Regions from separate parts of the Homo sapiens genome. Here all the other regions are linked to region 2. The links are contacts of gene promoters, found by promoter capture Hi-C in blood cells and fetal thymus (Javierre and others, 2016). All regions are on one chromosome and are shown on one strand. Each heading gives the region's core, a stretch centred on a gene start or on the middle of the fragment in contact. The rest is flanking DNA. Distances are from core to core; before and after follow the strand shown. Region 1 overlaps IKZF1 (IKAROS family zinc finger 1). Region 2 holds the start of UPP1 (uridine phosphorylase 1). Region 3 overlaps SPMIP7 (sperm microtubule inner protein 7). Region 4 has its middle 15 kb from the start of IKZF1.

What was found. Contacts are between HindIII fragments. The CHiCAGO score rates a contact against its expected background, and 5 or more counts as called.
Region 1: a contact is called between a fragment that was not itself captured here and the fragment with the promoter of UPP1 in region 2, in 2 of 17 cell types (total CD8 T cells and non-activated CD4 T cells). The highest score is 7.9, in total CD8 T cells.
Region 3: a contact is called between a fragment that was not itself captured here and the fragment with the promoter of UPP1 in region 2, in 1 of 17 cell types (non-activated CD4 T cells). The highest score is 5.6, in non-activated CD4 T cells.
Region 4: a contact is called between a fragment that was not itself captured here and the fragment with the promoter of UPP1 in region 2, in 1 of 17 cell types (activated CD4 T cells). The highest score is 6.0, in activated CD4 T cells.

Annotation. Positions count from the first base shown.
Region 1 is chr7:50,317,903-50,321,189 of GRCh38, forward strand. It overlaps IKZF1 (IKAROS family zinc finger 1), which reads left to right. Exons shown (of 8, transcript NM_006060.6): 2 at 1,146-1,199. The coding sequence starts at 1,160. Among named protein-coding and RNA genes, the nearest start is that of IKZF1, 15 kb to the left of the region's middle. RefSeq lists enhancers at 424-493, 504-553, 802-913. The HindIII fragment of the contact is 301 bases long and covers 1,242-1,542 here.
Region 2 is chr7:48,087,776-48,090,793 of GRCh38, forward strand. UPP1 (uridine phosphorylase 1) reads left to right here and starts at 1,490. Exons shown (of 9, transcript NM_003364.4): 1 at 1,490-1,643; 2 at 2,413-2,589. RefSeq lists enhancers at 493-1,022, 835-1,044, 1,555-2,084 and silencers at 1,185-1,524, 1,865-2,054. The HindIII fragment of the contact is 3,480 bases long and covers 1-2,969 here.
Region 3 is chr7:50,147,027-50,150,361 of GRCh38, forward strand. All of the region lies in intron 7 of SPMIP7 (sperm microtubule inner protein 7), which reads left to right. Among named protein-coding and RNA genes, the nearest start is that of SPMIP7, 53 kb to the left of the region's middle. The HindIII fragment of the contact is 168 bases long and covers 1,543-1,710 here.
Region 4 is chr7:50,288,200-50,291,472 of GRCh38, forward strand. No RefSeq gene overlaps it. Among named protein-coding and RNA genes, the nearest start is that of IKZF1, 15 kb to the right of the region's middle. The HindIII fragment of the contact is 633 bases long and covers 1,240-1,872 here.

The DNA.
Region 1 (3,287 bases), core at 142-2,641, 2.2 Mb after region 2:
CACACATCTGAACCAGAGACAGAGGTGGCCAAAAATAAAAAGGGGGACAGGGGGACAACCTGGTTTAGAGTCAACAAATAGACTGCATTTTCTGGTTAGTGAAGGAGCTCTCCTGAAAGTCATATACCAGAGCATAAATGAGCAGATTTCCTTGAGGTCACCTTCTGCTGGCCATAGCTTTCTTATCTGTGGAGCTGCCAGCTGTCATCCACTTTGGGGCACCTGAGACTGCCGAGCGGCAGGCCAGGACCCAAGTGCGAAAACACAGAACACCTTTTTGTTTCTACTCCACTGATGCTGGGGTTCTCTCCCTGGTGTTTGTGGCTCGTAGTACACTCTGTGGAACATTCACTATGGTCATCGAAGGGCAGCATCTTCCCAGTTGTTTCTTTCTTTTCTTTTTTTTTTTTAATTTAAACCGATCTGAGAAGCCAGCCATCTGTCAGCAAAACAGGAAGGCTCGGGCTGTCTCCTGGGCTCGTTTTGCTGCCGTAGTGAGCGTCACTTCTCCCCGTGTAAGAGTGCTGGTGAAGGCTGAGGCAAGGGCCCAGAAAGATTGAGGGACAAAGACAGGAGCGCCCGCATTGCCCATCTGCCAGGCTGGAGGTGTATTCATTATTGATGGAGGTAGTGCAGTTGCTGCTCAGATATGCAGCCCTGCCTGGGTAAATGAGACATTCTTCAGCAAATTGCTTCGTTTTTTGATTGCTGATTGTACGCGTGTCACCAAGCTGACTCAAGGTTCATCGATGCATGCTCAGTAAATTAGAAAGAACATAACTATGGATCAGCCAAGAGAATGAATTCTGTGCCTACAATGACCCAGGGCCATTTAATTTTCTGCTTAATTTTGTTGCAGTCAGTTTGCATTTTGGGTTATTATGCAGTAGGAAATTAACAATAAATAACAAATTTGGTCCTCCTGTGCTTGTAATGATATTTTTATAAATCTTTGTAATGCTGTTTTTAAAAGGATCAAGGTCTGTGCCAGTCTGATACTCCAGCAAGTATGTGAGGAGGAAAATGCATTATTCTTGCTAGATAACCTTGTTGTTAAATAGCATAGGGGTTCTTTATCTCTCTCTCTTTCTCATATCTTATTAGTATTTTTGCTTTAAACTAAAATCCCTTCCTCTCTTTCTCAGATAACCTGAGGACCATGGATGCTGATGAGGGTCAAGACATGTCCCAAGTTTCAGGTGAGACCTTATGAGATAGCTGTGTGGGAAGTTCATGAGAAAAGCTTCCCTGGGGCCGGAAGTCACAGTGCTTGGTATGCTCATGGGGGAGGAATAGGGGCTATTCTGCAAAAGAAAAGACCATGATGGAATTTGCCTGAGTGTTTCCTTCACCTGTTACAAATTATCTCACTTTGAGCTGAACAGAAAGCCTCCAAGATGAAATTAGTTTTACTGTTAAACTTCAGGAAAAAAAAACGGGAAGAGTTAAATACATTTTTGTACTGTTGGAAGGAAAAATGGCTGATTGGTTTAAAACCCAAACACATGCCAATGATGGTACTTAAAGAGAGAGAGAGAGAGAAGCTTGAAAAACATAATTGTTGGGCACAGTCATGACTGTTTGTTCATTAAGCATGGACACAACATTGCTCCCCTTTGCCATATATCTTTTCAAGCCGTATTGGATATAGCTCTTCTCATCCAGGAGACCCAGGAAGTGGAGAAGTCTGTAGTAGGAAAAGCCTAAGGGTAGGTCACAGACTGTGACCATTTGGCAGCACTGAGGGTGGACGGCGAGCCAGTCCAACAAAACCGCACAGTTCCCCAGTGCATGGACATAGGAAGACAGCTTTCTATCTGGCCCTGTATCCAGAGGCGTCAGCCCCAGTAGCAGCTTTCATGGACTTTGGGGTTTTCGGTATTTCATATTTTTGAGCCTCACAGACTCACAGCCAGCCCCAGAGGCTGACTTATATTTGAGAAAGTTCTCAGTGGCACCTTGCCTTGGCTGAGCGCCCTCGTGTTTTGAAGTTTCTATGGGATTCTACAAGTTGGTGCTCCTGATGAAGACCAGGACCTATGTGTGGCTGCTCCCCTGCTTGGTGGTTTCCCTGGGGAAGGTGCAGGAGAGGATCTTCTGAGTTCCATGGAACTGGAGATAGATCTGCCAATCACAGGCTTCCTTCTCCACCACTCCTCAGCCGCTCTATTCATGTTTCAGATTTTGGACTTAAACTCTCCCAGGTGCAAAGAACAAACAAAAGGCTAGCTTATTTTTCTTTTAGAGTGAGGCTTCGTATTTATTACAATATAATTGCCACATTCTTTGTGTAATTCTCACATTTATATCTTAAATATAATTCTCATGAATGAGAATTATATAATTCTCTTTTTGTATATCATTGAATATTTTCACTTAATTTTTAATTTTTTTAATCGTCACAAAATAATTGTGTACATAGACACAAAATAATTGGGTACATAGTGATGTTGTGATATATACAATGTATAGTAATCGGATCAGGTAAATCAGCATATTCATCATCTCAAACATTTATCGTTTCTTTGTATTAGGAACATTCGACATCTTCCTTCTAGCTATTTGAAACTATATATTATTGTTGACTACAGTCATCCTGCAATGGTGTAGAACACTAGAACTTATTCTTCCTACCTAGCTGTAATTTTGTCTCCTTTAACAAATCTCTCCCTATCTTCCACTCCCCCGACCTTTCCAGCCTCTATTAGCCTCTGTCCTACTTTCTACTTATAATGATGACAGCAGCATTTGTTAGTTTCCACATGTGAGTGAGAACATGTGGCTTTTTAACTTTTAGAATGTGGTATTCAGGCACTTCATGGTACAGTTGGTAAAAGTGAAAATGTGTCCAAAAGTTTGTGATTATCTATATAAACAAAAATGGTATAAATACAAATATCAATTTTGCATTGAAGAACTTACCTTAGAGGTATATTCTCACAAGTGCACAGAGCATTTAAGCATTTGTTCACTGCAGCATTGTTATCAGTATTTTAAAACTATGGTACATCCATGTACTTCCACATACAGCTCTTAAAAATAAGGAGGATATGAATGAACTAGTATGAAAAGAAGTCCAAATACATGTGAAAGTGAGAATAGCATGGTTCTGGATGGTATGCAAAGTATGATCTCGTTCTTTTAAAAGAAAATAAATTACATACACATACATATTTTCTATATGCTTGCCCATAACGTTTAGGAAAATTCTTGGGTGATATTTATTAACCTGGACTTCCTCTTGGAAGACTGATGGTAGAAGGAAGGGGACGAGTTAGGGAAGAGGA
Region 2 (3,018 bases), core at 240-2,739:
GCCACCCAGGTTCAAGTGGTTCTCCTGCCTCAGCCTCCCAAGTAGCTGGAATTACAGGCACCTGCCACTGTGACCGGCTAGGTTTTTTTTTTTGTTTTTTTTTTTTTTTTACTTTTAGTAGAGACGGGGTTTCACCATCTTGGTTAGGCTGGTCTTGAACTCCTGACTTTGTAATCCACCCGCCTCGGCCTCCCAAAGTGCTGGGATTACAGGTGTGAGCCACTGCGCCTGGCCGTACTTTCATTTTCAATAAAACCCTTAATTCCTTCCTTGATTTGTTTGTGTGTTTCACTCTTGTCACCCAGTATGGAGTGCAATGGCGCGATCTCGGCTCACTGCATCCTTCGCTGGGTTCAAGCAATTCTCCTGCCTCGGCCTGCCTAGTACCTGGGATTACAGGCACGCGACACCACGTCCAGCTAATTTTTTGTATTTTTAGTAGTGACGGGGTTTCACCATGTTGGGCAGGCTGGTCTCGAACTCCTGACCTCAGGTGATCCATCCGCCTCGGCCTTCCAAAGTGCTGGGATTACAGGCGTGAGCCACCACTCCCGGCCCAACCCCATGTTTTCTCAGGAACTGGAGTTCCCTTTAGGAAGCAAGTAACAGAGGTGCTGGGCTGCCCGGGCCTCTAGGTCGTCTTCTTTCCCAGGCTCTGTGCTCTCACCAGAGTGCGCGTTCGGGAAGCAGGGAGAGGACCAGGAAAGACGCCTGAGACGGAGAGTGGGCACCGGCCGGGGGCAGGCAGGTCCGGCCCCTGGGGGTCAGAGTGCAGCGCCGGTTTGAGGCAGTTCGGCCACTTAGCTGCGACTCGAAGTGAATGAGTCACTTCCCCTCCTCGGGCGAGCTCCTGGCTTTGCCCCAGCAAGCGGGAACTCCCAGGATCAGGAAGGTCCCAGAGAAACTCCCCAGGGGGGAAGCCGAGGCCGTCCAGAGAGATCCAGGGTACACACAGTGACAGTGCCAGCTCCACATTCCCGACCACCGGGCCAGGGCTGGTTCCACGCTGTCATTTCTCTCCGCTGGCCCCAGCCGCGGGGCCACCGCCAGACAGACAGACCGGGGATCCTGCCTGGCGGCGTGACCTTGGGTTAGTCCTAGAGCCGCTTCTAGCCCGGTTTCCTCCGCCCCAGGTTAGGACCACGTGGGTAAGAAGATTTCCTCTGTAGTAGGGGCTGTTTAATGAGTAACAGAACTGGCTGCTGGTTCTTTACAATTGCCCAGCTGCTCTGCAGAGGCGAGAAGCAATTGCGGGCTGAGCCTCCCGGGACCTTCGCGGGAGGGTGGAGAGGAGGAAGGCGGGGGAGGCGGGGCCAGAGGGGCAGAGGAAGGTGGGGGCGGGCGGGGCTTGTCTGCGGGATGGCCCAGGATGCGGTCAGCTGAGTTCGCCGGCCCAGGGCAGGCGGGGCCCGAGCCTAGCGGTAACCCCCGGGCAGGGCGGGGCCGCTCGCAGACTCCATATGAGATTCACCTCGCAGGTGGTTCCCTCATTCGAGTGCTCCGGCGCACAGACCCGCGCCCCGCCGTCTGCGAGCCTCCCGAGAGCCGTCCCTTCGTCCGGCCCTGGAGCATTGCGTTTGTCGCCGGTGTCGCAGTGCGAGGATGGCGCCGCGGGTGTAGCGGCTCTCTGCGCAGGCCGAGTGGTGAGTCGCCCGCGGCCCGGCTCCCGCCGTTCTCTCTTCCCAGGGGTCTAGCCCGTCCCCTGCCTTGGCCACGTGCCCATTTACCTGTAGGGGCGGTGACGGAGGCTCTGGTGCACCTTGGCTGTGAGCTGCAGAGGAGCAGAGAGCGGCCCGGCGCGGCTGCGCGGGGAGGCGGGCGCGCGGCCGGGAGGTTCTGGGGCTGGTGTGTGCGGAGCGAGGTGGGCGTGGGGGAAGCGCGCGGGCGGGATGTGCTTCCTCGGGTCCACCCCGTGCCTACCTCTCCCACGTCCCGGCGACGGAGCGCGCGGGGCTCTGGGCGGGGAGCCCACCGGGCCGAGGCGCAGCGAGGGTGAAGCCAGAGCCGGCAGGGTCAGGTCCCGCAGGGCGCAGGCGGGCGCTTCTCGCAGCCCAAACCCGGGCGGGGAGTGCGGGAACCCCTAGAACTATGCTGGGAGCCCCAGATAAGAGGAAGGAGATGGTGACTTAAGTGACGAAGTGATGTTTTGTCCCCACCGCCTTTTAAAGGGAGAAGGGGGTAAAATTTCATTTGGAGGATGATTGTTACGCGAGCTTTCAGAGTTCAGATGGCGTCAAGTGGCCATCGAGTCAACATTTAACAAAATGTTACCGCATAAAATATTGTCATCGAGTTATCTGGCAGCTCCGCAGAGAAACTTCACAGGCATATGCGTTATATGACATAATTTGCATGGGGAAGGGGGTCCCTTCACGATTCTTTTATATGGCAACCTGTTCTTGGACCTGGCAGGGCCCAGAGAAGCGAGGAACTCCGCAGCTCGTCGACACGTCTCGTCTCCTGTCCCAATTCAGGGCTTGGTGAGGTGACTCGCGGTCGCGGGTGACTCGCCGGCAGGACACTGCCTGGAACGCCTGGAGCGCCTCCCACTGCAGACGTCTGTCCGCCTCCAGCCGCTCTCCTCTGACGGTCAGTTTCAAAGAAACACAGTCTGGGATCCGGAGTAGAAAGAGGCCGTTTCCCGTGAAGGCCATAGAGGCAGTTTCCAGGCGCCTGGGTGACCTGTCTCTGCACTTCCCTCTCTGCTTCTCCATCCCTGTTTCCTTTCCCCACTGTCCCCTGCCTGGCCTTTCTTTGGCTCATTTTCTGCCTTCCTGGGGTCTTCTGGTTAAAAAGACCATTGGTTCCATTCATTGGCTGTAACCGCGGGTCTTTAAAAAACTTTGTGACTTCCTTGAATAGAAAGAATGTCTTACTCTGGATTTCTACAAGCGCTGCTGAGCCATTCCCAGGGCAGGCCTTTGTCTCTCCCGCCTTTCAGTTTGTTTGCCCATCTGCATTTTGGCCCAAGCTTTCCCCATTTCTCAGCTGCTCTTACATTATTTCTTTTTTCAGAGG
Region 3 (3,335 bases), core at 377-2,876, 2.1 Mb after region 2:
AAATGTGTCTGTCTCACACCCCCCTCCCTTATGTCGCATCCATGGTCTTTGTTCACTTGGGATCTTTAAACATTTAAATGTGCATTTTTTAAATTAAAAGTATTAGTGTGAAAGCTGTTGGGAGCTAAGTCAGCTTGATGTCTGCCTAGAACTGTAGCTGATATAGAATGGCTCTAAATAAAAGACTATCACATTGATTTGAACCTGCACTTACACCCCACCCTGTATAATTGCAGCCCACTGTGAGCTAATGAGGCTCTCCTGGCTGGGCTGGGAGTAATGCCAATGGTCCTTCCTATTCAGTTCAGTTGCACTGAGGTCCAGTTCTACCACTTGCCAGCTTGGTTGGTGCTGGCCATGATACTTAGACTTTCTCTGTGTCAGTTTCTCCATCTATAAAATGGACATGATCATAGGACCTATGACACAAGATTGTTGTGAGAATTAAACAGTCAATTTACATCAAGCATTTAAAAGGGTGCCTGGAATATAGAACATACTCAATGACTATTAGTCATGTTTACAGTGTAGAGTGAGAATTTCTATGCATGCCTAAATTTTATGCACATATACAATACATATATTCTACGTATAACATGGTTTTCTCCACATTTTTCCTCTCATATTTAACTTATATACCATCTGTGCTCCCTTCTTCTGAGTTACTAAACTTCTTGATTTTCTTAAATTACTTAATTTCTATTTTATCATGTTTGGTTGAGAACCAATTCATTGTAGACTTGGGCAATAATATATTCAAATTTATCAATTAGTGAACAAAATCCTGGCTTATTTGGAACTAGGGAGTACAAAATAAGGTATTTAAAGGACTAGAAGCTGTGGAGCAAAGGCAAAAATGAAGACTTCTTATTTTTAAGTGGGTCTCTGCGTCTCTCTACTTTCCTCAAATGGGGAGTGGAATTCTTTGAACATGCGACTAACCTGGAAATCCATTTCCCGGCTTGTATGTTTCAGTATCTTTAATAGCTTTGTTCCCTCCAGCTGAAAAATAATATCTCCTATCAGCAGCAGTCTAAAGTGTTCCCCAGAGAGTATTCTCCTCTTAATATAAGGTCGCTGTGTTGCACTTAAGATGGCAAAATTCCCCTTGTTATGGCCATATGTGCCAGGGTTAAATGGAGTAGATTTAGAAGCAGTGTGGGTGAGGACTTTCGTTTTCAAATATTTGGCAATTTATTATGCAACTGAATTCATTCCCAAGACTGAGCAGCTAATCAGTCTAATCTTCCATGAAATGTTATTATTAAATATGATGTAATCTAATAGCATTAAGACAATGTAACATATGATACCATTTAGCATCAATAACATGCATGCCACAGAGGCACAGAGGCTGTGCAATGTTTTTTATCAAGCCTTTCATGTGATTGACAGATGGCCTGCGTCCATCCCTCTGACTTCTTAACTGCTCTGATGGCAGGATATGACTTTAGAGGCATTTTAATTCTGCAGGTGTTTTCAAAGGCAGTGGAAAAAACCTTTCACACAGATGGAGGGGATTTCCTTTGTAACATGCATGGAAGCTTTAATGAATGGTTGGGGGAGAGACACACGCATGAATAACTTTGCCTCATTCTGGGTTACCTCTCTAACTTACAGCTGCACTTTTCCAACAAAATTCCAAAAAATCCTGCAGGGCACTGCCTAGAATTCAGCAGCTTCAGTTCACTCACCTAGGTCCCTCCAGCAAGCTTGACAATGTGGCTGTAAAACAGAGGCTCCTGAACTTAGCAGCACAGGAGAATCATCTGGAGAGCTGTCAAAAGTCCCAGTGCTCAGGCTACACCACTTACTAGTTACATTAAAATATGGGGCTGGGCCGGGCACGGTGGCTCACGTCTGTAATCCCAGCACTTTGGGAGGCCGAGGCGGGTGGATCACAAGGTCAGGAGTTCAAGACCAGCCTGACCAACAGGGTGAAACCCCGACTCTACTAAAAATACAAAAGTTAGCTGGGCATGGTGGTGCACACCTGTAATAGCAGCTACTCAGGAGGCTGAGGCAGGAGAACCACTTGAACCCAGGAGGTGGAAGTTGCAGTGAGCCGAGATTGTGCCACTGTACTCCAGCCTGGGCAATACAGCGAGATTCCATCTAAAAAAAAAAAAAATGTGGGAGTGGGAGCCAGGCATTGGTACCTTTCAAGATGCCTCTGAGATGTCAGTGTGCAGCACCATTGGGAACCTCTGTCTTAGCATCTTTTCAGCTGTCTGTACTGGATAAACTTTGCAATCCCCATGTGCATGGCCCTTATTTTGTAAATGTTTTATTTCTTTAAATTACTGTATTTCAACTGAAATTAGTTTAGCATCTATTAAGTGCTAACAATTTGCTAGCTGTTTTCATATTCATTGAAGTCTCCTCTAATCCCCAGAGTGCCCCTAAGAGGTTAGTGTTGTCCTCTTCATGCTGCAGTTGACCGAGCTGAAGCCCAGAGAGCTTTCTTCACTGGAGTAAAACCTCACAGTTGGTTAAGGGGCAGAGTCAGGCTTGCCACAGAAGCCTGCTTCTCGATGCAGTGGGCTGCCCCCACTCTTTAGCTGCCTTATTTTCCTAGTCTCACAAAATCTGTTATTTTGTACTGTTTATTCTGCTGTTGCCATAGATGTAATTTCCCTTCACTTTGTTAGTCTCTGGGTGTCCTTGATTATATCACCTGCAAGCCAATAAGTCATCACCAACAGAGTCATAAATTACACAGCTGGAAGAGAATTAGGAGATTTATTAGTGCAATTCCCTGCCTGATATGTATTTTCCCCCTAACATTCTGATACTTGCACATAATCAATGTGGGAAGGACACCAAGAAATTGCAGTGTGAATCCTTCTCGTTTCCACTTCTCCCTCACCCAAGTCCTTCCGGTTGGTATCACTACCCGGGGTCAGGCTGAGGCTAGAAGGCTCCAAAAGACTATGTCCAGTCCAGATCCCAGAGATGACATGGGGAACCGGGGACTGAATCTTCCTCCCAACCCTTAAGCACACACCCCTTTCACTAACCTCTCTTCTGCCTGCCTTGTCACCTGATACTTTCAGGAGCAACTCCTATAAGCTCCAAATTTTGAAAATTACTCCTAAGATAAGTGGTTCCTGGAGAAGGCTTTGTGTGGCTTACTGGTCGTGTGGGAAGGTCATGGATATAACCAAGGCAGCCATTGAAGAACCATTCCTCCACCACCCACAGAGGTTTGCTTGTTGCTACTGTGTTGCATTTTGTCTGGGCACCAATTTTGAATAGGGAACCATGCCACAAGGATGTCCTGCTCTCAGAGAAAGGTCCAAGGATGGCAAGTGAAAGCCACTGAGATGAATGAA
Region 4 (3,273 bases), core at 306-2,805, 2.2 Mb after region 2:
TATTTAAGGAAATAGTCGTAGATTATAAAACATACTGAGGTTACTCTTATCAAAACATTTGACTACTTCAAAATGCAGTTAAAATGACATTAAAATATGACACGGAAAGCACACTCAACAAAATAAAAAAAAAAGATAAACTGAACTTCATCAAAATTAAAACCTGTAGTGCATTGATGCCACTATCAAGAGAGTGAAAAGACAGCCCACAGAATTGGAGAAAGCTTTTGCAAACCACATATCTGATATGATTCTCTATACTAGAATGTATAAAGCCAAGTACATATTCAGAAGATATAAAATATCCAGAATATATTAAAGAACACTTACAACTCAACAACAAAATGACAATCCAATTTAAAAATGGGCAAAAGACTTGCCTATCATTTCTCCCAAGATATACAAGTGGCCAATAAGCACATTAAAAGATCCTCCATGACATTAGTTATTAGGAAAATGCAAATTAAAACCACTTTACAGTCACTAGAATGGTTATAATTCAAAAAAAAAAAGAAAATAATGGGTGTTGGTAAGGATGTGGAGAAATCAGAATATTCATATATTGCTGGAAGGAATTAAAATGAATTACAATGTGGTCCTGCAATTCCACTCCTAGGTATATACCCAAAAGAATTCAAAACAGGTGTTTGAGCAAAAACTTGTACATGAATGTTTATAACAGCTCTGTTCACAGTAGCCAAAAGGTAGAACCAACCTAAATATTCATCAACAGACGAATGGGTAAACCAAATGTGATATATTCATATAGCGGAAATTGCTCCACTATAAAACAGAATGGAATACTGATACATGCTACAATATAGGTTAATTTCAAAAACTTATACTAAATAAAGGAAGCCACAGACAAAAGGCCAAAAAGTATATGCCCCCATTTGTATAAAATATCCAGAACAGGCAAATTAATAGAGACAGAAAACAGACTAGTTGCTGCCAGGGGCTGAGGGCAGCAGAAAATGGGAGTGACTGCTTAATGGGCATTGGAATGAACAAGTTCTGGAAATAGTGGTGATGGTTGCACAACATTGTGAATGTACTTAATGCCACTGAATTGTATACTTTAAAAAGGTTATGACGGTAAGCTTTATGTTATGTGTATTTTACCACAATAAAAGAGACAATAAATGCTTCAAAGGCATGATTTAAATTAGTTTTACTAGTTCATTTTATTTCAGAAATCGGTGTTTACATTGTCTAAAGGTAGAATTAATCCATGTTTTAAGCTTTTGTTCTATACGGGGCAGAGAGAATGTTGTAATGTTTCTCACCTTCACCCTGTGTTCTTGGAGAGTATTTAATTTGGCTTATTGGCTGCAAATGTACATTATTTTTCTTTTTCAACTTAATTTGACCTCCACAGTTATGTGTTATAGCTTGGGGTTCAAGATATAGGATAGTTTCATCATAAATGCTTTTGGAATCATATTTATGAGTTTTTCTAAACTTTGTATAAGTCTGACTTGTAGTTACTGTTTTACAGTAAGCCCAGTCTTTCAATTTCCCAGTAAAGTTAATGGCTATTAAAATTGCATCTAACATTTTTGGACTCAGTTATCTCTTAGATTTAATTCAATTTTCTAAACAGCCTTTGCTTATTATGTATTTTCCTTTCCCTTCAAAAATGAATCAATTATTAGTTTCCAACATAATTTTGACCAAATTTAAGTTCTTATTAACACTTTTTTAATTCTATGAAGCAAGTCAAGTGAGTTATCTCAACTACATTTTCATAATGTACGTAGGCTTATTGATAATATTAAGTATTACTGCAATGATTAATGTTATATGTCATCTCTCTCTCTCTCTCTCTCTCCCCACAATCCCCCCATCCCCTGCCCTGCCCACTGGTGCTTAAGCTTGGACATCCATCCTCTCCTGCCCTCGGATATTGACGTGCTCCTGGTTCTCAGGCCTTCAGGCTTGGAATAGAATCTACACCACCAGGTTTTCTCAGCCCCCAGCATGCAGATGGCAGATCATAGGACTTCTCAGTCTCCATAATCATGTGAACAAATTACCTCATAATAAATCTCTATAGATCTATGTCAGTATCCACACCTATATGTATTCTATTGGTTCTGTTCTCTGGAGACCTGTTGATACAGTTTGGCTGTGCCCGCCCCCCTGCCCCGCCCTGCCCAAATCTCATCTTGAATTGCAGTTCCCATAATCCCCACATGTTGTGAGAGGGACCCGGCGGGAGATAATTTAATTATGGGGGTGATTACCCTCATGTTGTTCTCATGATAGTGAGTGAGTTCTTACAATATCTGATGGTTTGGCTTTTCCCCGTTTGCTCATTCTTCTCTCTCCTGCTGCTATGTGAAATCGGACTTGTTTGCTTCCCCTTCTGCCATGATTGTAAGTTTCCTGAGGCCTCCCCAGCCATGCTGAATTGTGAGTGAAATAAACCTCTTTCCTTTATAAATTACCCAGTCTTGGTTATATCTTTATTAGCAGCATGAGAACTGACTAATACACCTATAATACAATTAGTAATAAGTGATAATGTAGCTCAGTCAGGGAATATAGAAAATTATTAAGAAGAAAATATAAATCACTCAAGAACCTCTTACCTGCTGGCAACGTTAATAGTTTAGTGAATAGCCTTCAGGTCTATGTATGAGAGATATGTAAAATGCTTAAAACAATCCTGCAATTTTCATTTTCAGTCTACTATGCATAGTGGATATCTTTTCATCTTAGAAAATAGACATAAGTCATCTACTGATAGCTCCAAAATATTCATTTGTGGGAATATATCAAATACTATTTCATTTGGGATGAGCATTCAGTTTTCAATTCTTCCTTCTATGAACCTCATTCTAGTGAATGTTAAACACACATATGTTAAATGTTAAATACATGTATTTTCATATACAATTAGTTATCTGTGCATGTATTTCTTGAGGTTATGAAGTAAAAGGCCTCACGCCTTCTATAGTTTGAATTCTATTGATATTGATATGCAATGCTGACTTCCCTCTGATCTGTCCTAGGAATCCCACCACCAGACCCCAATCTCCATGACCTAAAGACAATCTTTTCATTGTAAATTTACAAATTACAGTTGTATATATTTATGGGGTACAAAGTGAGATTATGATTTAATAAATTTATTTAAAAGTTTATGATTTATAAATATAAAATGATTTATAAATATGATTTAGAAAAATTAAATCAAGCTAATTAACATATCTATTACCTCAAATACTTTTCATTTTTTTGTGGTGACAATGTTTACTCTTAGTGATT